Linked DNA regions of Homo sapiens: all the other regions are linked to region 4. The links are contacts of gene promoters, found by promoter capture Hi-C in blood cells and fetal thymus (Javierre and others, 2016). All regions are on one chromosome and are shown on one strand. Each heading gives the region's core, a stretch centred on a gene start or on the middle of the fragment in contact. The rest is flanking DNA. Distances are from core to core; before and after follow the strand shown. Region 1 overlaps NAA16 (N-alpha-acetyltransferase 16, NatA auxiliary subunit). Region 2 has its middle 72 kb from the start of NAA16. Region 3 overlaps MTRF1 (mitochondrial translation release factor 1). Region 4 holds the start of DGKH (diacylglycerol kinase eta). Region 5 has its middle 53 kb from the start of RGCC. Region 6 overlaps NAA16 (N-alpha-acetyltransferase 16, NatA auxiliary subunit). Region 7 holds the start of KBTBD7 (kelch repeat and BTB domain containing 7).

The links. The method cuts DNA at HindIII sites, captures the fragments that hold promoters and counts their contacts. A CHiCAGO score of 5 or more calls a contact.
Region 1: a contact is called between a fragment that was not itself captured here and the fragment with the promoter of DGKH in region 4, in 5 of 17 cell types (fetal thymus, non-activated CD4 T cells, monocytes and 2 more). The highest score is 9.7, in fetal thymus.
Region 2: a fragment that was not itself captured here is called in contact with the fragment with the promoter of DGKH in region 4 in 4 of 17 cell types (M1 macrophages, M2 macrophages, M0 macrophages and 1 more); the score reaches 9.8 in M1 macrophages.
Region 3: a contact is called between a fragment that was not itself captured here and the fragment with the promoter of DGKH in region 4, in 2 of 17 cell types (naive CD8 T cells and total B cells). The highest score is 6.1, in naive CD8 T cells.
Region 5: a fragment that was not itself captured here is called in contact with the fragment with the promoter of DGKH in region 4 in 1 of 17 cell types (fetal thymus); the score reaches 7.0 in fetal thymus.
Region 6: a contact is called between a fragment that was not itself captured here and the fragment with the promoter of DGKH in region 4, in 1 of 17 cell types (fetal thymus). The highest score is 6.2, in fetal thymus.
Region 7: a contact is called between the fragment with the promoter of KBTBD7 here and the fragment with the promoter of DGKH in region 4, in 2 of 17 cell types (monocytes and non-activated CD4 T cells). The highest score is 5.6, in monocytes.

What each region holds. Positions count from the first base shown.
Region 1 is chr13:41,355,194-41,358,522 of GRCh38, reverse strand. It overlaps NAA16 (N-alpha-acetyltransferase 16, NatA auxiliary subunit), which reads right to left. Exons shown (of 20, transcript NM_024561.5): 10 at 3,307-3,329; 11 at 50-219. Among named protein-coding and RNA genes, the nearest start is that of NAA16, 46 kb to the right of the region's middle. The HindIII fragment of the contact is 543 bases long and covers 1,045-1,587 here.
Region 2 is chr13:41,381,200-41,384,393 of GRCh38, reverse strand. It overlaps the pseudogene TUBBP2. Among named protein-coding and RNA genes, the nearest start is that of NAA16, 72 kb to the right of the region's middle. The HindIII fragment of the contact is 1,785 bases long and covers 896-2,680 here.
Region 3 is chr13:41,258,166-41,261,426 of GRCh38, reverse strand. It overlaps MTRF1 (mitochondrial translation release factor 1), which reads left to right. Exons shown (of 10, transcript NM_004294.4): 2 at 512-934. The coding sequence starts at 520. Among named protein-coding and RNA genes, the nearest start is that of MTRF1, 3.8 kb to the left of the region's middle. The HindIII fragment of the contact is 258 bases long and covers 1,429-1,686 here.
Region 4 is chr13:42,047,074-42,050,082 of GRCh38, reverse strand. DGKH (diacylglycerol kinase eta) reads right to left here and starts at 1,435. Exons shown (of 30, transcript NM_178009.5): 1 at 1,118-1,435. The coding sequence starts at 1,309. RefSeq lists a silencer at 1,129-1,658 and an enhancer at 2,199-2,288. The HindIII fragment of the contact is 8,345 bases long and covers 319-3,009 here.
Region 5 is chr13:41,403,094-41,406,288 of GRCh38, reverse strand. No RefSeq gene overlaps it. Among named protein-coding and RNA genes, the nearest start is that of RGCC, 53 kb to the left of the region's middle. The HindIII fragment of the contact is 3,000 bases long and covers 1-2,803 here.
Region 6 is chr13:41,315,059-41,318,275 of GRCh38, reverse strand. It overlaps NAA16 (N-alpha-acetyltransferase 16, NatA auxiliary subunit), which reads right to left. Exons shown (of 20, transcript NM_024561.5): 2 at 1,346-1,430. Among named protein-coding and RNA genes, the nearest start is that of NAA16, 5.4 kb to the right of the region's middle. The HindIII fragment of the contact is 2,393 bases long and covers 593-2,985 here.
Region 7 is chr13:41,192,929-41,196,016 of GRCh38, reverse strand. KBTBD7 (kelch repeat and BTB domain containing 7) reads left to right here and starts at 1,448. Exons shown (of 1, transcript NM_032138.7): 1 at 1,448-3,088. The coding sequence starts at 1,760. The region is part of intron 3 of KBTBD6-DT (KBTBD6 divergent transcript); the gene reads right to left. RefSeq lists enhancers at 1,278-1,367, 1,678-1,947, 1,292-1,998, 1,999-2,706. The HindIII fragment of the contact is 3,616 bases long and covers 1-2,322 here.

The sequences.
Region 1 (3,329 bases), core at 67-2,566, 690 kb after region 4:
AAAGTAGCTGAATTCTTCAACTACTCAAAAAACAGGATTCAGATTTTACCTTGTAAATTTTTGCTTTCATATAGAATAATTCTATTAGAGTTGGAGTACTAGCAATTGCAGCATTAATATAATCCAAAGCCAAAGAATACTGTCCAAGTTTATCAAAGTGCTGTGCCAGGAAATACTGAACCCAGAGTAGTGTTGTCGGGGGTTCCTTCTCCCCATTCTCTGCAATCAAACAAATATTAAATTATTATAGAAAGAATGTAAAGCAAATCACATATTTTCTCTCTCCTAATTCATAATGAAATGACTATTGCAATAATAATAAGCAAGAAAGACTCAGCAAAAACTACTAATTTCAAAAGAAAGAGGTATGACTTCATAAAGTTCAAAAAGTGGCAGCCATGTAGAGAAATAAGATTGTACTTTGACAGGCTTCTAACCCCAATCTCACTCCAAAGAAACAATGCTGGGGAAAAGATATACGTCAAACTAATTCTGTGAACTCTCAGCCTGAAAGCAAAAGGGCAGCAAGACCAGGAAAAGTCAAGGAAAAAAACTTGGCAAAGAGATTTCCTAACTACCACTGCAAGATTTCAGCAGAGGCAAGAACTGCCAAACTGCCATGGCTTACCATTTTCCAGGCCTCAATACTAAATCAGGGATACCCAAAGTTGAAGACTATGACCTATAGGAAGAAGATACACCTGACAAAGTAGAAACAACCCTACCATCTGACAAAAACCTAAGTAGAAAAAACACAGCCCAGTCCTCTTAAAAAAGCAGTCACATATATACACTTACCTGAGTTCTATCCTGTTCCCCATCCTGTACCCTCTAACTACAGAGGAGCAGAAAAGAAATATCAAGCTCTCAAAATGGATTTCAGAAGGGAAGACATACTTGTGTAAAAATGAGGAGGAAAGAGTGAATATACCCACACTACATCAAAACAAACAGGTTTCCTAGCATAGCTGATCAAATGACATGCAAACATACTATAGCACACATTAAAACACAAATAATAAAATAAAGGCAATGAGTTAAGCTTCTACTCTGTTCCTCTTATATAAACTATATTTCAAGGGAACCAAGTATTTGATGAAGGAAAGTTCTTTATAAGAAAAATTCCAGCTAACGAATGCAGAAATTATTAGAATCAACAAGGGATCTAGGCAATGATCTTCAATTGCTGAGAGGCCAATGAGGAATTTTTGTCTTGTTCTATCACCAACACTGGAGTGCAGTGGCATGATCATAACTAACTGTAGCCTGGAACTCCTAGGCTCCAGTGATCCTCATGCCTCAGCTTCACAAGTAGCTGGGACTACAGGTGAGAACCACCGAACGTGGCTAATATTTTAATTTTTTGTAGGGACAGGGTCTCACTTTGTTGCCCAGGCTGGCCTCCAAATCCTGGCTTCAAGAGATCTTTCTGCCTCAGCATCCCCAAAAGTGTTGGGATCACAGGTGTGGAGCCACCGTGCCCCCACGCCGTCATGGACCTTTTTAATGAGTATAACAGGCTGACAACATCTGAATCTTTATCAATCTTAACATCAAAAAAGAGAGAAAACCAGAATGTCTCAAGCTTCCTGACATGACACAACAGGAAGCACAAAGCACCACCCGTATTTAAACAGAACCTGAATCTAATCCAGCAAGTAAACCTAACTATAACTTACAAGTATGAATGACAGTGAAATACAGCAAATGATACCATGAGAAAGGCAATCAACCAAATCTAGAATATGGGATATGTAAGACAAATGACCTTTCAACAAATGACTGTTTTTTTGAAAGGGAGGGGAGAGTTATTGTTCTAGATTAAAATAATGAGACATAACCATCAACTTATGGAGATATAACAACCAATTATTTGGTGTGAACCTTAACTGGATCTATACTCAAATAAACCAAACACAAAGACTTCTTTTGGATAATGGGGGAAATGTGAATGCGGACTGGGTATCAGATATTATGTTATGAGGTTTTGTGTGACATGGCACTGCGATGACTTCTTCTGTTTACGTGTTTTAAATAGAGATGCACACTAAGATTGGGTATCAGATATTATGTTATGAGGTTTTGTGTGACATGGCACTGCGATGACTTCTTCTGTTTACGTGTTTTAAATAGAGATGCACACTAAGATATTTACAGATGAAACAGTAAGTCTGGAATGTGCCTTAAAAAAACTCATAGAGGGTGTGGCAGCTCACACCTGTAATCCCAGCACTTTCGGAGGCTGAGACAGGCAGATTGCTAGAGCTCAGGAGTTCAAGATCAGCCTGGACAACATGGCAAAATCCCACCTCTAGAAACCTCCCCCAAACCCCCGCGTGTGCGCGCGTATGCACACACACACACACGCACACAAAATCAGCTAGGCATGGTGGCACACGCCTGTAGTCCTTGCCACTCAGCAGGCTGAGGTGGGAGGATCACTTGAGCCCAGAAGTTCAGCTTGCGCAACACAGTGAGATCCCCTCTCTTAAAAAACATCAGAAAAATACTCAGAGTAATGACATGTAAGAGACACATAAGGAACCCGGAAGTTACTTTGTGCATGACTGAAAACATTCTAGTGTTTTCTAAAGTAACTTGCCTTGATTTATATATGCTCCTACAAATATAGAAACAAAGGACCAAACTAAAGAGGATTAAAAGTAATAAGAGGGTAGAAAAAGCAGAGAATTTAGGGATTCAGGAAAAACAGGTTCCAATATAAACTAACTACATGGTCTTAGGCAAGCCATTCAACCTCTCAAGTATGTTTCCTCATGTTAAAACAAGGTTAAGCCCAGGTGTGGTGGCTCACGCCTGTAATCCCAGCACTTTGGGAGGCTGAGGCGGGTGGATCACGAGGTCAGGTATTCGAGACCAGCCTGGCCAACATGGTGAAACCCCATCTCTACTAAAAATACAACACTTAGGCAGGAGTGGTGGCAGGCGCCTGTAATCCCAGCTACTCAGAAGGCTAAGGCAGGAGCATCAGTTGAACCCAGGAGGCGGAGGTTGCAGTGAGCCAAGACTGTGCCATTGTACTCCAGCCTGGGTGACAGGATGAGACTCCGTCTCAAAAAACAAACAAACAAACAAAAAAACCGCACAAGGTTAACTCCCATCTCATAGGATTATGGAAAATTTAAATTAAGTAAGATTGAAAGTGCTCTCATTTCATTCACCAATTTGAAAGCCATTTATTAAGTAGCCATTAGGTAGCACACACATAATATACATAAAAGAGCATTACTGTGATTAAAAATGAAATGAGTAATCAAATTCCAATTCAATCTAATTTAAACTTACCATATGGGCTAAAAAAGTCACAC
Region 2 (3,194 bases), core at 539-3,038, 670 kb after region 4:
ATCCAGATGCCATTTAGAACCAACCAGGTGCTGAAAACCCATGTAGATAATGGCCACCATCCTAAGCCCAAAGTAGAAGATGGTAGAAGGCAGTGGGTAGAAGTCACTATATAAGGAAGGGGATGGGATTTTCCATTCTAAAAGTTTTGGAGAGGGAAATCCAGGCTATTAAAGTCACTAATTTCTAAGTATGTCCATTTCCCATCTCAGCTTCAAGAGAGGTGTCAGCAGTATTATCTCCACTTTCAATCTCCCTCTAAGCTCTACTCTTTGGAGGTGTCTGTCCCACTCTGTCAAGTGGAATCCTTTCCTTTCCAACTCTACCTCCCTCACTCGAGCTCCTTTCCCCTGATCAGAGAAAGGGATCAAGGAGTGGGGGAAAGAGTCCAGCCTTGGTCCCTAAGCCTCCAGAAATGTCCTCTTAATCCCCACTTTTTCTTACCCCCTAAAAAGAAGGAACATCCCTGACTGTGGAATGGTGTATACTGCCACATCAGTGTTTGAGTCAATCCTCAGAGGAGAGGGGAACCCTCCTCCATCTTTTTCACAACATCTCATTTCTTCCTTTTGCTGTTGCTTCCCCCCCCCCACACACTTGGTTTTGTTCTATCCTACATTTGAGATTTCTATTTTGTGTTGAACTTGCTGCTTTTTTTCATACTGAAAAGATGACATCGCCCCAAGAGCCAAAAATAAATGGGAATTGAAAAAAAAAAAAAAGAGAACCTCTTGTCGAGGAAACAAGACTTTAAACACACACAAGGCCAGGAAAATGAGTAAGACACGGCATGATTACTGAGCATCTGACAGAGAGGAAGGAACACTCAATTCAAAATTAGAAGGAGTGGGTTTGGATCCTGCTTTGTACTAAGAAACTGTGGCCCTGAGAGAAGCTTACATCCTATCAGCTGACTGTCATGGAAAATGGGGATGATAATATGACCTCTTTCACAGGGCAGTGGTGAAGGCAAATCAGAGATCAGAGAAAATACTTAGTGACTGTGAGTGTTCATCAATGACATTTATGAATATTTATTTTGCGCTGAGCTCTGTGATTTATACTCAAGACAGACATGGTTGGAGACCTTACAGAACTTACAATCAAGCTAAATAAGTGGTCATCACAGGGCACCCAAATAGCAGGCAACTGCTAGCCCACATATGTCCTTGCAAGATTTGAAAACAAACTGCAAAACGATGCCCTTTCTGAACATGCTTAAAATGCTCATGGAAAGAAACCAGTAGAGAGGCAGAGACAAATGGTACAGGATGTGATCAAGCCAAGTAAGTACCCTAAGACCTGAGGGAAAGAAATTCAGAACACAGGGAAAATTACCCTTTTGGGGAAGAAAAATGTGACAAGATGAAAGGAGGAAAAAATTCTGCAATCAGAAATAAGTTTATAGATTTAGTACAGGGAAGATTAAGAATTTGTATCTGATGGCTTCTATTTTTTGTTTAAATGGGAAGTGAGGTTATAATTTCCTTATCAATTACCCAGTCTGTGGTATTCCATTACAGCAACAGAAAACAGACTAAAACAGATGGAGATGAAAAGTATTGATACCAGGGAGATCAAGAAACTGAGAGGCCAGAGTGTTGAGTGGGTGCACCAAATAGATGCTGAAACCACCTGGAATTTCAGCACGATTGGAGAGAAGGGAAAGTCTGTGAGTCAGAGAAGTGTATAAATGACAGCAACAAAGAGATGTCAAGAGTACAGCCCAATAGCATTATCCTCAAAGGAGCATGGATTTGTTTGTACAATGTTGGAAGAGTGATGGGCTAGAAATGGTGGAGAGTGAAATGCTCTGAATGCTCTTTCCAGGGAGATGGTGAGAGAATAAACAGTCTCCACTTGAAAGGGCTGCATAATGGATAGAGATCCGTTACGATTTTCAGTTAAAATTAAAAGATAAGCGGAAATGGTGAAGGCAGAGAAAGAAGATGTATGGAACTGTGAAAACGTAGATTTAGTACAAGGAAGATTAAGAATTTGCATCTGGCAAAGCCATGCAGTTGAATATTTTTAGAGGGTAAATTGCAAAGAACACAAGGAAAGAGTATAGAGAGGGGCTGACCTAAGGAAGAGAAAACAACAGATGGGGATGAGAGGATGGGAGAGGAAAGAGAACCAGAGAGCGCTTACGCCTTGAGTGGAACTCAGAGATGGTCACAGGTCTGCCAGAAGTATGAGTCCCTACAGATCCCTGGTGGATTAGGAGTAGGGGGTGGAGGATAAGGGATAGGGGAGTAGTCCTGAATAAGCTACAGGGTAGGTTGATCATATGGCCGTAGGTTCACAGGCTCCCAGAGGCTGGGATTGAGCCGAAGCCAATATATGATCCCGTTCAGGGGCTATGAAGCCACTTTAGCTACTTTAAGATAAAGAACTTTCACTTATCACAATGGCTATCCTAAAGATGTAAAGTCACAAAGTGCTGCTAAAATATTAACAGACACCTGTGTTCTAGAACTAACATCTACACATTCTGGGAAAGAAGAAAGGGCTAGTCGGCTTTTCCTACCATCAGGGATTAAAGTAATTTTCTTTAACAAGCTGTTAACCAAATCTATTAATGAGACTATCCTCAATAGAAAAACTCAGATCTCATGACTATCCTCTCAGAGAACAGGAGCCAGGAGGCACTGAAATCCGTTGTAATTCTTATACTAAGCTTCTTAGTTACTTAAATTTACTGTCCAAATGTTTTCATTCTACTGCCTATTAAGGAACTTAAAAAGACACACTGCAGGCCGGGCGTGGTGGCTCATGCCTGTAAGCCCAGCACTTTGGGAGGCCCAGGAGGGAGGATCATGAGGTCAGGAGATCGAGACCATCCTGGCTAACACGGTGAAACCCCATCTCTGCTAAAAAATACAAAAAAATTAGCCAGGCGTGGTGGTGGGTGCCTGTAGTCCCAGCTACTCGGGAGGCTGAGGCAGGAGAATGGCGTGAACCTTGGAGGTGGAGCTTGCAGTGAGCTGAGATCGTGCCACTGCACTCCAGCCTGGGCGACAGAGCAAGACTCCATCACAGAAAAAAAAGACACACTGCGATAGTAGATATGGAAACAACCCAAGTGTGCATCAACAGATAAATGAAGAATATGTGGCATATATATCAATGGAATATCAGCCTTAAAAGAGTGAAATCCTGCCATTTATGCCAACATGGATGAATATGGAGGACA
Region 3 (3,261 bases), core at 308-2,807, 790 kb after region 4:
GAAGCAGTGCTGTTTTTATTTATTTTAATATGTTATTCATACATTTGAAGAATTATGTTCTTTCTGTAGGCAGCTGAATTTTTTTTTTTTTTGAGACGAAGTCTTGGTATTGTCCCCCTTGCTGGAGTGCAATGGCATGATCTCGGCTCACTGCAACCTCTGCCTCCTGGGTTCAGGCAATTCTCCTGCCTCAGACTCCTGAGTAGCTGGGATTACAGGCGCCTGCCACCACGCCCGGATAATTTTTGTATTTTTAGTAGAGACAGTGTTTCACTATGTTGGCTGGGCTGGTCTCGAACTCCTGCCCTCAGGTGATCCGCCTGCCTCAGCCTCCCAAAGTGCTGGGATTACTGGCGTGAGCCACTGCTGCCAGCCGGCAGTTGAATTTTAAGACTGTGGAGCTGGCTGAGGCAGTAGATGAAACAAGATTTCTTGATGTTCCTTCCAGGTTTATTATGCATGTATCTTTAGAGATGATTTTTTTTTAAAGACTGTGTTTATTGTATTTCAGATGCTGAGATGAATCGTCACCTGTGTGTTTGGCTTTTTAGACATCCATCTCTTAATGGTTACCTCCAGTGTCACATCCAGCTCCATTCTCATCAATTTAGACAGATACATCTTGATACAAGGCTGCAAGTTTTTAGACAAAACAGGAATTGCATTCTTCATCTGTTAAGTAAGAATTGGTCCAGGAGATATTGCCATCAAGACACCAAGATGCTCTGGAAGCATAAAGCACTACAGAAATATATGGAGAACCTGAGTAAGGAGTACCAAACACTTGAGCAATGTCTGCAGCATATCCCTGTGAATGAGGAAAACCGAAGGTCCTTGAACAGAAGGCATGCTGAGTTGGCACCTCTTGCAGCCATTTACCAAGAAATTCAGGAGACTGAACAAGCAATTGAAGAATTAGAATCAATGTGTAAAAGTAGGTAAAAGATACTTATGTGTCCTGCATAAGGGCTATGAAAAAAAAAACCACACACTTATATGCGTGTGTGTAAGTACAGATTTGATTTTCTAAGTTAAAGCTTTATTGAACTTAGTCTTTGTTTTTTTTTTCCCACAGAAGCAGGTTCTCACTTGTTGCCCAGGCAGGAGTGCAGTGACTCAATCGTAGCTCACTGTAACCTGTAAGTCCTGGCCCCCCACTTCAGCATCCTGAGTAGCTAGGACTATTGTGCCAGGGCTTTCCAAAGCGATATGATTATAGCCACCGAGCCACTGAGGCTGGCCTGAACTCAGTCTTTTAAAAAAACCTACAAGTAATAAGCTCAACACTTGGAAAGAACAGGACTCTGTACCCAGAGTATTTGACACACTTTAGCTACTAAAGATCAATGTACTAAGTAAACAGGCTCCTCGTGGTACTTCCCGTGGTCTCAAGGTCTGGGAGACAAAATGTTGGTCTTTTCAGAAGCTTTATTTTATTGAGCAGACCTTTATTGAACACTGTACCTACATACTAGGGCTACACATACAGTTCCTACCCCATCAGTGGGCTTCTATGGTCCAGTGAGAGAAACTTATTTAAGTATTGTTTATAATGTGAGACCTGCTCTACTAGAGGGAGGCACAGTTTCATGGGAGCAAAGAGGAGAGGGCACTCAAACCAGCCTGGATTGATTGGGTAAATCTTCCTGGAGGGGACTGCGCATTAGTGGAACCAGGAAGGAAGCTTTTATTTTTTATTTTTATGTTTTTTTTTTTTTTTTTTTTGAGACGGAGTCTCGCTCTGTCGCCCAGGCTGGAGTGCAGTGGCGGGATCTCGGCTCACTGCAAGCTCCGCCTCCCGGGTTCACGCCATTCTCCTGCCTCAGCCTCCCAAGTAGCTGGGACTACAGGCCCCTGCCACCATGCCCAGCTAATTTTTTTTGTATTTCAGTAGAGACGGGGTTTCACCATGTTGGCCAGGCTGGTCTCAAACTCCTGATCTCAAGTGATCCACCCACCTTGGCCTCCCAATGTGCTGGGATTACAGGCATGAGCCACCATGCCCAGCCAGTACTTTATTTCTTTTCATTACTGAATTATATTCCATTGTATGGATATACCACATTTTATTTATCCATTCATCAGTTGATGAACATTGAGTTGTTTCCACTTTTTGGTTATTATAAATAACGATACTGTGAACTTTTGTGTACAAGTTGTTTTGTGGACATAGATTGCTGGTTCATGTGGTAACTCTATGTTTAACCTTTTGAGGAAGTGCTAGACTGTTTTCCAAAGTGACTATAACGATTTTACAGCTCTACACACAGTGTATGAGGGTTCATATTTCTCCACGTACTTGCCAACACTTATTATCCGCCCTTTCAATTATTGCCATCCTATGAATGTGAAGTGGTGTGTTATTGTGGTTTTGATTTGCATTTTCCTGAAGATTAATGATGTTGAGCATCTTTTCTGGTGCTTATTTGGCCATTTGTGTATCATCTTGGGAGAAATCACTGTTCAGATCCTTTGCCAGTTTTTAAATTTAATTGTCTTTTCATTATTGAGTTGTGAGTGGTCTTTATCTTCTAGGTAAAAGTCCATGATCAGATATATGATTTGCAAAAATTTCCCATTCTGTGGTTTTCTCTTCACTTTTTTGATACTGTCTTTTGAAGCATGATATTTTTAAATTTTGATGATGTCCAATTTATCTTTTTTTCTCTTGTTGCTTGAGTTTTGGGAGTCGTATCTAAGAAAATTGCCTAATCTAAGGGCACAAAGGTTTACATCTGTGTTTTCTTACAAGACTGACGTATTTTTTATTTTTATCCCATGCATTTAGGTCTTTGATCTATTTTAGTTATTTTTGTATATGGTGTATTTATTTTTTATGTTTTTTTTTTTTGTTTTTTTTTTTAAGAGATGGTCCCTCACTCAAACTCCGGGGCTCAAACAATCCTCCTGCCTCAGCCTTCTGAGTAGCTGGGACTACCGGCTATTTTTTATCTTAGTTTTTTATTTTAGTATTTCTCAATACTGCTATTGCCTCTACATTTTTTCTCTTATGAAAATTTTCGAAAATTTTTATACAGAAGTTGAGAGAAAAGTTTAATGAACTAACCTATGATTCAACATTTATCCAGATTTGGCTATTAACTTTTAGTTTCTAGATTTTCTTCTGTGCTTCATTTTGTTTCATTTAGCCTTAGCAGTATTATGTGATACACAGGCCAGTCACTGTTATACCTGTAAAGTCCTGGATTTTTGAAGCCTTCCATTTTTCTGCCTTCTATTGATGGTACCACAAGTCTCTTA
Region 4 (3,009 bases), core at 186-2,685:
GGCACTGAATAAAAATTATGTTTCCAAATAGGAGTTCATTGACCTTAGGGAAAATTTTTCATAAAAATAACTGTAGAATGAATTTTTTGCAAATTTATTTTTAAAAACGGTACCCCAAGCCAATGATTTTGTGGTTCCGTTTTCAATATCCTCGTTAAATTTCCCTACTGATAACAGACTCTCTCTGTGAAGATTTTTAAATTACAATGAAAATTAGAATACATAAAAATCCTTTAATATCCATAAGCATTTGCTTTGGTATGTTCATGATCAAATTAAAAATTAACTTTGAGACCTCACAGGTCGACAGCACAAGCTTCATTAACAAGAGTAACACACCATCCTAATGTCCACACAGCACAGAGGTAACTTCTCATTATTAAAAAGAACCATGGACGCATGGTTCTGAACCCTGCCTGCACTTGGCGGGAACCTGCGACACGAAAGCCTGGCCAGCCCTTGGAGCCATGCAGGGTGCGGTTAAGCCGCGAACACCATGTCCCACTTGCCTGCCTCGGGGCTTCTGCCTTCCAGACCGCAGCAGGAGGCAGAGGGGCAGGAAAGGCTGACCGGTGTCACCTTCCACCCACCCTCTGAGTGGGCCTAAGTGGGAAAGCAGCAGGGCTCACTGCAGCGCAGGCTGGTTGGCCAGCACATGCGCACGCTCCCCCGAACGGCAGGGAAGAAAAATTGAAACTCTCCTTTTAAGTTCCCTAAGTAGGAACTCGCGACTGCGCGTCAGCTTTTTCCCACGCTCCCGCCGAGCCGCGGGTTCCCTGCACCCGCCTCTGCCAGTCGAACTCCCTGGGAGCCCAGGCTCGCAGCCTCCCGCGCAGCCGCCGGGAATCCGTCCCGCAGCACCGCGGTCCAGCGCCCCCGGGCCCCGCCCCACCCCTCCCCGCCCCGCCCGCGCCCCAGGCCCCGCCCCGCCTCACCGTCTCACCATCCCCGCCTTCCCCGCCTTCCCCGCCTTCCCCGCCTTCCCCGCCTTCCCCGCCTTCCCCGCCTTCCCCGCCTTCCCCGCCTTCCCGGGATCGCCCGGCGCGTTCCAGCGCCCCCGCGCCCTCTCCACCTCCCGCTTTCCACGCGGCCCTCAGGCCCGCCTCCTCCGCCCTACCTTGGTCCGGATCTGCCCCGAGGTAGACACTTTGCGGATCAGTTTCTGGGGTCCCTCTTGCTCCGCTTCGCTGTCAGACGAATCCTCTCCCGGCCCCGCCGAGGCAGCGGCGGAGGTGACCGCGGCGCCGGCTCCGGCGGCCGCTCCTCCAGCGGCGCCCGGAGGGTGGTGCTGGCCTCCGGCCCCTGCCATCCTCTCCGACTCCTGCGGGGACACAGCACCGCCCGGCGGGGGCGGCGGCGTTGGTCAGCGGGTGGGCTCTGCCCGAGCGGAGCCCGGAACCCCGTGCCCGGCCGCCGCCGCCATCTTCCGTTTCCCTAGCTACCCCCGCGAGGTAAGGGTCGCCCGGGGCAGGCGCCCTCCAGGCAGGGGTCCACCCGGCTCCTCCGCTCGGTTCCCGCCGGAGCGGCGGCCACGGTGGGACGCAGAGGTAACGGACCCCCGCCCGCCTCGGACCCCTGCGCACCCAGCCTCGGATAGGACCAGCGCGGGTAGAGAGGATGGGGTGACAGGGTTTGGAGCAACATCTCTTCCACTCCCTTACGGTCTGGGTCCCTAGGATGGACAGGAGGGTGGGGGAGGCAGGAAACCTCTGCAGCCCACCCCGTAGTGGCGATGCCCGCACACCCCCTCTCACTTCTGGACAGCAGGGGCAACGCCGATCCCTGGGGAAGAATGGGAACCTGGAGCTTCCTCCCAGCACCCTTGGGTGCACCCGCCACCTCCTGAACCCCGAATCTCTCCAGAGACACTTGGGCCTCGCCGCGCGGTTCCAGCTGAATAAAAGTCCCCTCTGCCACCAAGACAGTCGGGGGCTGCCCCTCGTCGGTTTCCCCACCCCCAGCCCCACTCCGAGGACCGTACCTCTCCCGCCTCCGCCAGGGCCGTCGGGTCCCCTCAGCTCTCCTGACGGCGGCGTTCAGTTTCTGGCCCACCCCCACCCCCATCCGGCGCACACGGAAGAGAAGAGCATTTTCCGGGAGGTTCAGCTCCGCTCTGAGAACTTTTCGTTCAGAAAGAGCGATCCCCTTCGGCTAACAGGAAACTGGGAAGGGCGTGGAGAAAGCGCAGAAACAAGAGACTACACGCAGCCCAAGACGACAGAACGCACAAGAAGTGTCTAAGCTGAAGCGCTAACCGAGATTGCCTGGAAGAAAACAATACACTCGAGCCATGCGAACACCAGTACCCGAGACAAAAAGCCTTGGAAGTCCTGGCAGAGCCACTCCCTAGCCCGGACTAGAGCAGGAGGAAGTGGGATCAACAGGCTGTAGCCACCGCGCACAACTCCCCTGCAAGCTGGCTGCGCGGGCACTTGGGAACCGCGGACTGGCAGCGGGTTGTGCACGCTCAACGTCAAAGAAGCCTCACAGGTGTGAGGGGGCTGCGGTGAGGGGGCTGCGAGAGAAGACATTAAAACGACAGATCCCTCTTGTCATCCAAAGAGAACACCAAACTGGTGTTAGCTATATTTTTAAATAGGACAAAAAGTCCCTGCCAGACTGTGGAGTCTCTCCACCTGGAGAAAGCATTCAATCTCTGTTATGTTCATGCCTTTCAGTACCATTCCTTTCGTATTTTTTCAGTTGACATGACCTTTAAGGTTCCTCCAAACTAAGGTTCTAATTTTTTTTTTTAACTTGCAGTCTTACTCCCAACAAGAAATTTGATATATTAGAGCTAACAGTTCTAAGAAGTTTTAAGAAATAGTATGCAATCCCAATACTGGACATCACACTGTAAATTAAATTCATTAAAATGTAAAATGTGTTTAGTTCAAATATTTAAAGACAGGAGACTGCTGCTATGTAATAATAACAGAGAGGCTATTTCTGCAGCTTCTGTTGTCTCCTTTAGGAAAGGAAGGAGTTGGGCAAAATGAATTTTAAGAA
Region 5 (3,195 bases), core at 54-2,553, 640 kb after region 4:
ATTTTATATACTGTTTATAACCTGTAACCATATGATCAGTTTCCATGTCTTTAAATATTATTTCTCATCATTTTAATAGGTATGTGGATAAACTGCAATTTAATCAGCTCCCCACTTTTTAACATTTAGATTTTTACTTTTTCACTATCGTAGATACACTCTGATAAATATTCTAAGAGCTATATTTTTAGACTCATCTATGATTGTTTCCTTAGAATAAATTTATAGATATTAAATTGCTGGGTCAGAGAAATATATGAAATTCTAAGTCTTTGAGTGTGTATTTTCACATTACCTACAGAAAGATTATACCAAATTATGTTATAGCTGTCTGCAGAAAACATAAGGCAATCTTACCATGTTGATGAATTTTGTGTGGACGCTTTTGTACTGATCAATCTTTAGAAATATTAATATTTTCAGTAAAATATTAACATTATTTCCTGAATATAAATAAAATGCTGAGCTCACATTTTACCAATCTGATACAAAAAGAAGTGAATACTCTCTGAAATGTCACCTTTATTAAACCAGTGCTCTGTAAGGGCACCTTACAATGTGGTACCTGGTGTTTGTTTTTTTAACTTTTTTAATTGATACATAATATTTGCACATATTTATGGGGAGACTTGTTTCATAAAAGCTCATTCAGTTTATTCGGAGATCAGTGTGTGCAGTGACCTGGGGGCATTCCTATCCCCTTGTTGCTCTGATTTGCCTGAGCAATGCCGACTAAGCACTTTGTTTCAACCACAAGGGTCTGGGCTCTGCATAGCTATACCATGCCTTTTAGATTAAATCTGATTTCTTCCTCCAAGTGAATGCTTTACTCTTATAGCCAACAGGGCACAGAGTTCAGAGAAAGAAGATCATGTTCTATAGTGTATTAACACCTTAAAAGCATGTACCCATCTGTTTCCAGTTTGAAAGAAATCAAAGTTAGGCTTATAGAAAATCAGGCACTGTGAATCAATCAATTAATTATTGTTGAGTGTTGACAATGTGCAATAACAAAATTCTTGTTATTACATAAACAAAATCAGAGAGTAAACTTAAAATACATTGGTAAATATTCTACTTTCTTTTAGGTTTAGTTACTTTTTCTGGAATATTGGATGAATGCTGGTTGAATTTTTTTTCCTAGATGCTTATTTTCCCTTAACCTGGAATAAGAAGACCATAAAATATCCTGTTTTTCCTCAAAAGATGCTTTTTAAAATGATGAAATTAAGTGTCTCATCATATAAGTATTGGCCTTATGTGTTTATTCTGTGAAATACCAATTTATGTATTTTGTGTATTTTCCTGTTGAGTTGTGTTCTCTTCTTATTGATTTATAGGAGTTCTTAGAATTATTTTGATATAGAATTTTTGTTAAATGTGATACATCCTCTCTGTTTGTAGCTTATCTTTTGACCTTATTTAACACGTTGTTGATGAACACAAGTTTTTAATTGTTATGTAATGAAATTCATCACACTTCCATTCTATAGTGGGCTTTTTTTGTGTCCAATGTTTAAGAAAGCCTTCCCTACCCTCAAGATCTAAAGATATTCACCACTTTTTCCTTCTGAAAGTTTTAATTGCTTTTGATATTTGAATGGTTAATCCATCCAGAGTTGATTTGCATGTCTGATGTAAGATAGAAATCTAATTTACTCTTCATATGGATAGTAAGTTTCTCCAGTGCCATTTATTGAAGTCCTCATAAATAACTCTGGAAATGCAAATCAAGACCATAAAAAGACACCAATTTACATCCATTTGATTGGCAAAAATTAAGTCTGGCAACACCAAATACTAAAGTGGATAGATGAATAAGATAGCTTAAACATTGCTGGCAAGAGTATAAATTGCTACAACCGCTTTGGAAAACAGTCTGGCATTATCTTGTGAAGTTGACATTCACACACCCTACTACTAACCCAGCATTTCATTCTTTGGTAGAAACCAAGGAAGACGCCGGCATGTGTGCACAAGGAGAGAGAGCCCCTTATGAGAATGTTCACTACAGTGATGTTGATTACAGCAACACATGGTAAAGCCTACACTCTGGAGTCAAGAAGGCCAGATTAATAAATTATGGCATATTCACACTGTGGAATACTATGTAGCAGTGAAGATGAATGAATCACAGCTAACCACAACAATATGAATGACACTTCGTAATAAAAAAAAAAATAAGTGGGGAAAAAGTCCCAGAAGATTATATATGGCATGATATCTGCAATGGACTAAATTTTTGTGCTTCCCCCGCTGCACCAAGAATTCATATGTTGAAACCCTAATCCCAATGTGGGCCTGTGGGAGATAATCAGGTCATGAAGGTAGAGCCCTCTTGGATGGGATTAGTGCCCTTATAAGAAGAGGCCTGAGAGCCAGATAGTGCTCCTTTCACCTTTTGAGGATACAACAGGAAGATGGCAATCTGCAACTCAGAAGAGGGTCCTCCCCAGGGCCCCACCAGGCTGGCACTCTGATCTTGGGCTTCCAGCCTCCAGAACTGTAAGAAATAAATTTCTATTGTTTATAAGCCACTCAGTCTACAGTACTTTGTTATATCAGCCCACACTGACTTTAAAAAAATCTTTTTTATAAAAGTCAAAAGCAATTAAAATTAATCATTATGTTATTGACATGCCTATATGTGTGCTAGAAATATATTTTAAATCAGCAAGGAATAAAACCACAAAACTCAGAATACACTATGTCAGGTGGGCAGAGGTGGAAGGAGCCCAGAACTTGGGGCTCCCAAGCAAGGGCTGTGACGTGCTATAACACTCTCTTTGGGGCTCTGCAAGCTTTCAGGCACCACTGCTTTCCACCTTGCCCAGACACTAGTCTGGATACAAGCAGAAGCCGCTTGTAGTATGTCTGGTCCAGCCGTAGCCTCGCACAAAGGCACTGCCTGTGCCAGTGCCTGGAGCTGCCCACCCTGCTGCAGCTGGCACACCTGGCTGTGCACAGTGGCCAGACCCTGTGATTGCTCATTCACACACTCCCTGCCTCTCTGTGCCTGGCTTGACTTTGGCAGGAGTGGGATCCAGGCTGGTAGCACAAGCCAAGTGCAGCCTGACGGGCCGAGTCGGCAGAACAAACCCAGTGGGTGCAAGCAAAACTCAAGCAGAGGTGCCACTGGCCACAGAGGTTTCCGGCTGGTGAAGCGACATCCTAAGGATCCTGTGACAATCCCAG
Region 6 (3,217 bases), core at 540-3,039, 730 kb after region 4:
CAAGATTGTGCCACTGTACTCCAGCCTGGGCAACAAGAGCGAGACTCTGTCTTAAAAAAAAAAAAAAAAATTACAAAGCAGACATGAGTCTTAATGGAATTAAATCTACCATAGCAGTTCCACAGCTCTTACCTAAGGTCAATTCTAATCAATCATCAATCTGATTTACAACCACACAAAAACACTCAATCTACCTTAATAAAGACAAATACATAATTTAAAAATCACTAATCACTTTATTCAATATTGGAACAGACTTCATTTTTGATAGCAAGTTTATTCCAACAAATTATACTTAGGCTAATTAACATCAGTTCACATTTCAACAGCACAACACTGGATGATGGTAGTGGCAACAAAAAACATGTAAGGAAGTTAATAAAAGATGGTTTAGGATGAAATAATTCTCTGAATTATCCACAAGAAGGGAATTACACAAGAAGAATGATTTTCAAACTCTATGGTATTCAGAACATGGTGATCCTGTGGCCCAAACCCCGCTCCAACACCTTTTATCTGTTTTACATATTGAACTTTCCCACAGGCACCATTTGGATAAAGCTTCCACAGCTAAAAAGCTTGAAAACAAGCTTTAAAATTAATTCTATGAAATGAAGATTTCTTTCCATTTCCTTCAAAGAATCTTTTAAATGTTGTTGGAAAAGTGAGCAAGGTCAGCCTATTTTCCCAATAAGATGATCTCAACCATTATCCAAGTCTGATACTGAGTAATCTCAACCAGCTTTGCTATGCTACAGGATCATTATTTTCATGTCTATCCTGATCCACCCTTCTAACACTGGCTGTTACTGAAAAAGGACACAACCAGAAAATACAAACTTTATTAACACCAGTGTTAGAAAACAACTCAAAATATACAATCTAATGGTAAATTAGTAATATCATATGTAAACGTCAGCACATACTAAAAAAAAACAAAACAAAACACATCTACCAAAGAATAAAGTGCAGGTGACCATATCTTCATACTTCTATATTGCAAATTTTGTCCTAATTTTACACACAGGAAACCAAGGTATAAACTTTAAATTCTATTCAAAGTAATAAAGGAAATCAGGTCCATAAAAATACTGATACATACTTTCTCCAATTTTTTCCCCAATAGATAAACGAACCATCCTAATCTTATCCTTAAGTATACATACTTAAGGATAATACAGGTAATCTAGAAGACTCATATAAAGCATTAAAAAAATGCTGAACATTTATGCACTCTAATAGAGAACTGCAAGGCCCTGGAATCGGGGAAATACTCTTCTTTCACTGTTAATGCCTGGTTTTAGAATTTGATTTCCCTAAAGCAATCTCTCACATGAGACAATACCTCCATGTTCAGCAAATTTTGGGTTCGACAGAATCATCTTGCAAAACTTGAGGCCATTTTTGTACTGCTTCTGTTCATAACATTTCTGTAAAGAAATATGAACAAAAGTTATTTTATCAAATGAATACATAATGGAGCAACTTCTCACAGCATCATATATTCTAAACTCAAGATCCAAAATTAGGTCTAAAATGTGATAGAAAGGATATCACTTACAAACATGCAGTGTACTTTTGTTACCTATTCTTGTCAAATTGTTCTAAAATCTACATATTTTCATTTTTATAAAAGACCATGAAAAAAGACATTTAAAAAACAGGAAATGTGGCTCAGCAAGGTGGCTCACGCTTGTAATTCCAGCACTTTGGGAGGCAAAGGTGGGCGGATCGCTTGAGCTCAGGAGTTCGAGACCAACCTGGCCAACATGGTGAAACCGTCTCTACTAAAAATACAAAAATTAGCTGGGTGTGGTGGTGCGTGCCTGTAATCCCAGCTACTCAGGAGGCTTAGGCAGGAGAATCGCTTGAACGCAGGAGGCAGAGGTTGCAGTGAGCAGAGATCACACCACTGCACTCCAGCCTGGGAAACAGAGCGAGACTCTGTCTCAAAAAAAAAAAAAAAAAAATTACAAAAATTAGCCAGACGTGGTGGCGCATGCCTGTAATCCCAGCTACTTGGGTGGCTGAGGCAGGAGAATCACCTGAACCCAGGAGCTGGAAGCTGCAGTGAGCCGAGATCATGCCACTGCACTCCAGCCTGGGCGACTGAATGAGACCCTGTCTCAAAACAAACAAACAGAAAAAAATGACAATTCACCAATCAATACTGCCACAGAATTTTTTATTTTGTTTCCCTTTCCTAGTACACAGAATTTTTTAATTCAAAATAATTCCAATGCTTTGGGAGGCCAAGGCGAGAGGACTGCTTGAGCCCAGAAGTTCAAGACCAGCCTGGGGAATAAAGCAAGATCTCATCTCTACAAAAAAATTAAAAATTCCTCAGGCGTGGTGGTGCACATCTGTGGTCCTAACTGCTTGGGAGGCTGAGGTGGGAGGATCACTTGAGCCCACGAGGCTGAGGCTGCAGTAAGGCATGACTGTGCCACTGCACTCAGCCTGGGCAGTAGAGCAAGACACCATCTCAAAAAAAAAATTTAAGCAAAAACATATGTGGCAACAGAAAAATACCAGAAACTGCACTAAAAGCCTTTGCTACCGCAAGAATGAAACCAAAGTGCATGGGTGTGTGCACGCATACACACACACACACAAATACTACCACTTATTGAGCAGCTATGATATGTCTGTAAAAAATTTGTAATCTCTTACTTAATACCAATTCTTTAATGTAGGTGTCATTACTTCCACTTCAGAGATGTGGAAACTGAAACTCCAGAGGTTCAAAAACTTGTTTATAAGCTGCTCAGCTTAGCTGCAAACTCTGATCTTACTCCAAAGACCATCATTAGTCCAATGCAAGGATAAGCAACATCTTTATTTCCGAATGCCACCAGCCAGGGTACACAATTAACATCTCTCCCTGGCAGCCACTGATGCGAAGAACACCCCATTGCTTTCCACTCTTCCCTGGCTTACATTGTTCAGTCACACTGGGTGTTAAATTACTCAACATGCCAAGCTTATCCCCACCTCAGGCCTCCTACACTTGTGTTCCTTCTGCCTGAATTGCTTTCCTAGATCTTCCCATGGATGGTTCCTCATTATCCAAGTCTCACATGTCCCCTACTTGCCCACTTTATCAAATACTCCCATCCTCCTTCCTTCCCCAACATATTCTCTACCATGTTACTCTATTTTCCACACAGTGCTATCATTTCCTGAAATCTTATTTATGCTATTATTTAGTGTCTGT
Region 7 (3,088 bases), core at 199-2,698, 850 kb after region 4:
CTAGCAGCAGGAGCAGTCATGGTTTTGTAATAAAAGTTATCTGAAAAAGTCTGTTACTGGTGGAGGGTGTCCAGGTTCTTGGCGTTTTGGACAAAAAATTGGACAAAACACATAAACAAAGCAAGGAAACAATGAAACAACAAAAGCAGAGATTTACTGAAAATGAAAGTACACTCCACAGTGGGGAGCGGGCCTGAGCATAGGGGCTCAAGGGCCCTGTTACAGAATTTCTGAAGGTTTAAATACCCTCTAGAGGATTCCACTGGTTACTTGGTGTACACCCTATGTAAATGAAGAGAATGAAGTAAAGTTACAAACTCATTTACTCAGCATACACCCTATGGAGAGGATCTTTCCTGTTATAGCTAAAGTGTGAATCAGCCTTATGTTCCCTGCCTCCAGACCCTATTTTCCTGCCTCAAATCTCTAATACTTGATTTTGATGATTTAACTGTTGATCCCAATGCAAATATAAAAGACTTTGTAAAGCATAGACTATACTATATATTAATTCAAGGAATGTCAGGGCATGTACTGATGTTGAATTCTGAGAATCATGTGCTTTTGTACAGAACAAAGTCTGTTTGTTGAAATATTTTGAGTTAAAATACTCCCTAAAACTCCTTAATAAAGGGAATTACATAATCTGTTAATTGATTTGTGGAACGGCAGTGAAAGAGGCTGTATTAGACGACTTGAAAACACTCATATTTGGAGCTTAACGAAAATACTCCTGCTCTCCAGAGATGAAATGTTAGTGAGAGCAGCAAATAATTTATTTTTATATGCTGGATTTGCGTATTTGAGACCATCTATTAATACTGTTCTTTAGGACCTCAACCTAGTCGTCTAAGACATCCTTATTAAACGAGACCAATAGATATCATTTAATATTGAAAATATTGTTAATGCCCTTCAAAATCTTTCGAAGGAATAAACATTAAAAACTAGAAATTCTTTGTAAAATTTTGCGGTTTAAAATAATACTCGGTTTCAAATTAGTGGGTGCCTCATTTATCATAAATTATAAAAGAGAATCTAACAGTTATTGGCTACATTCTAGGCACGGGGTAACGCTTTACTATTCTTCTAACCAAAAACATACATGTATCTAAGTATCCCATGTAAGGTATCATTGAACCACACAAAACCCTATGAAATACTGGCAGGGGGCGGTGGCTCACGCCTGTAATCCCAGCACATTGAGAGGCCGAGGCAGGAGGATAATTTGAGCCCTCAGGAGTTCAAGACCAGCCTGGGCAACAGTCTCTTCACCATCAAATCCAGGAGAATTAATTTCTACTGTTAGAGCAGTCAACTAAAGGACAGCTCGCGATATTACACAAACTACTACTCCCAACATGCAAAGCGGTTTCTTTCCCTCTGTCCCCGCCCGGCCGTCCGAGAGCCCCAGCAGGCCTCGGGGCGCGAAAGGCAACCTGGGAGCAGTAGTTCTCCCGGGCGCCTAGCGGGATCGCCAGCGCGGCAGTGGGGGCTTCCGCGGCTGCAAGCCAGCGGGTCCTGTGAGGGCGAGCGGAGGCGGAGAAAGGGCGCGGGAGTGAGAGAGGGTGAGTCAGCCACTGTCTATGCAATAAAGGGAGGCCTCACCGCGGGATAGGGCTGAATTCAGAAGTGCGGCCCGTGCCGCAGTCTGTTCCAGGACGCGGCTTGTCTTAGCGTCAGCGAGGGAAGGTTGAGGAGGAGCCAGAGCCTGGTCCTGCAGCCTTTCTCGCCGTCAGCGCCCGTCGCCATCTCCACCATGCAGTCCCGGGAAGACGTCCCGCGCTCTCGCCGCCTCGCCAGTCCCCGTGGTGGGAGGCGGCCCAAGAGGATTTCCAAGCCCTCGGTTTCGGCCTTTTTCACGGGTCCAGAGGAGTTAAAGGACACGGCCCATTCTGCAGCCCTGCTGGCACAGCTCAAGTCCTTCTACGACGCGCGGCTGCTGTGTGATGTGACCATCGAGGTGGTGACGCCTGGCAGCGGGCCTGGCACGGGTCGCCTCTTTTCCTGCAATCGCAACGTGCTAGCAGCTGCGTGTCCCTACTTCAAGAGCATGTTCACAGGTGGCATGTACGAGAGCCAGCAGGCCAGCGTGACCATGCACGATGTGGACGCCGAGTCCTTCGAGGTGTTGGTCGACTACTGCTACACGGGTCGTGTGTCTCTCAGTGAGGCCAATGTGCAGCGCCTGTACGCGGCCTCCGACATGCTACAGCTGGAATATGTGCGGGAAGCCTGTGCCTCCTTCTTAGCCCGACGTCTTGACCTGACCAACTGCACCGCCATCCTCAAGTTTGCAGACGCCTTCGACCATCACAAGCTTCGATCTCAGGCCCAGTCCTACATAGCTCACAACTTCAAGCAGCTCAGCCGAATGGGTTCAATTCGGGAGGAGACTCTAGCAGATCTAACCCTGGCCCAGCTGCTGGCTGTCCTACGCCTGGATAGTCTGGACATAGAGAGTGAGCGGACTGTATGCCATGTAGCTGTGCAGTGGCTGGAGGCTGCTGCCAAAGAGCGGGGTCCCAGTGCTGCAGAAGTCTTCAAGTGCGTGCGCTGGATGCACTTCACTGAAGAAGATCAGGACTACTTAGAAGGGCTGCTGACCAAGCCCATCGTGAAGAAGTACTGCCTGGACGTTATTGAAGGGGCCCTGCAGATGCGCTATGGTGACCTGTTGTACAAGTCTCTGGTGCCAGTGCCAAACAGCAGCAGCAGCAGTAGCAGCAGCAACTCTCTTGTATCTGCAGCAGAAAATCCACCCCAGAGACTGGGTATGTGTGCCAAGGAGATGGTGATCTTCTTTGGACATCCTAGAGATCCCTTTCTCTGCTATGACCCTTACTCGGGGGACATTTACACAATGCCATCCCCTTTGACCAGCTTTGCTCACACTAAGACTGTCACCTCCTCAGCTGTCTGTGTGTCCCCAGACCATGACATCTATCTAGCTGCTCAGCCCAGGAAAGACCTCTGGGTGTATAAACCAGCTCAGAATAGTTGGCAGCAACTTGCAGATCGCTTGCTGTGTCGTGAGGGCATGGATGTGGCATATCTCAATGGCTACATCTACATTTTGGGGGGACGA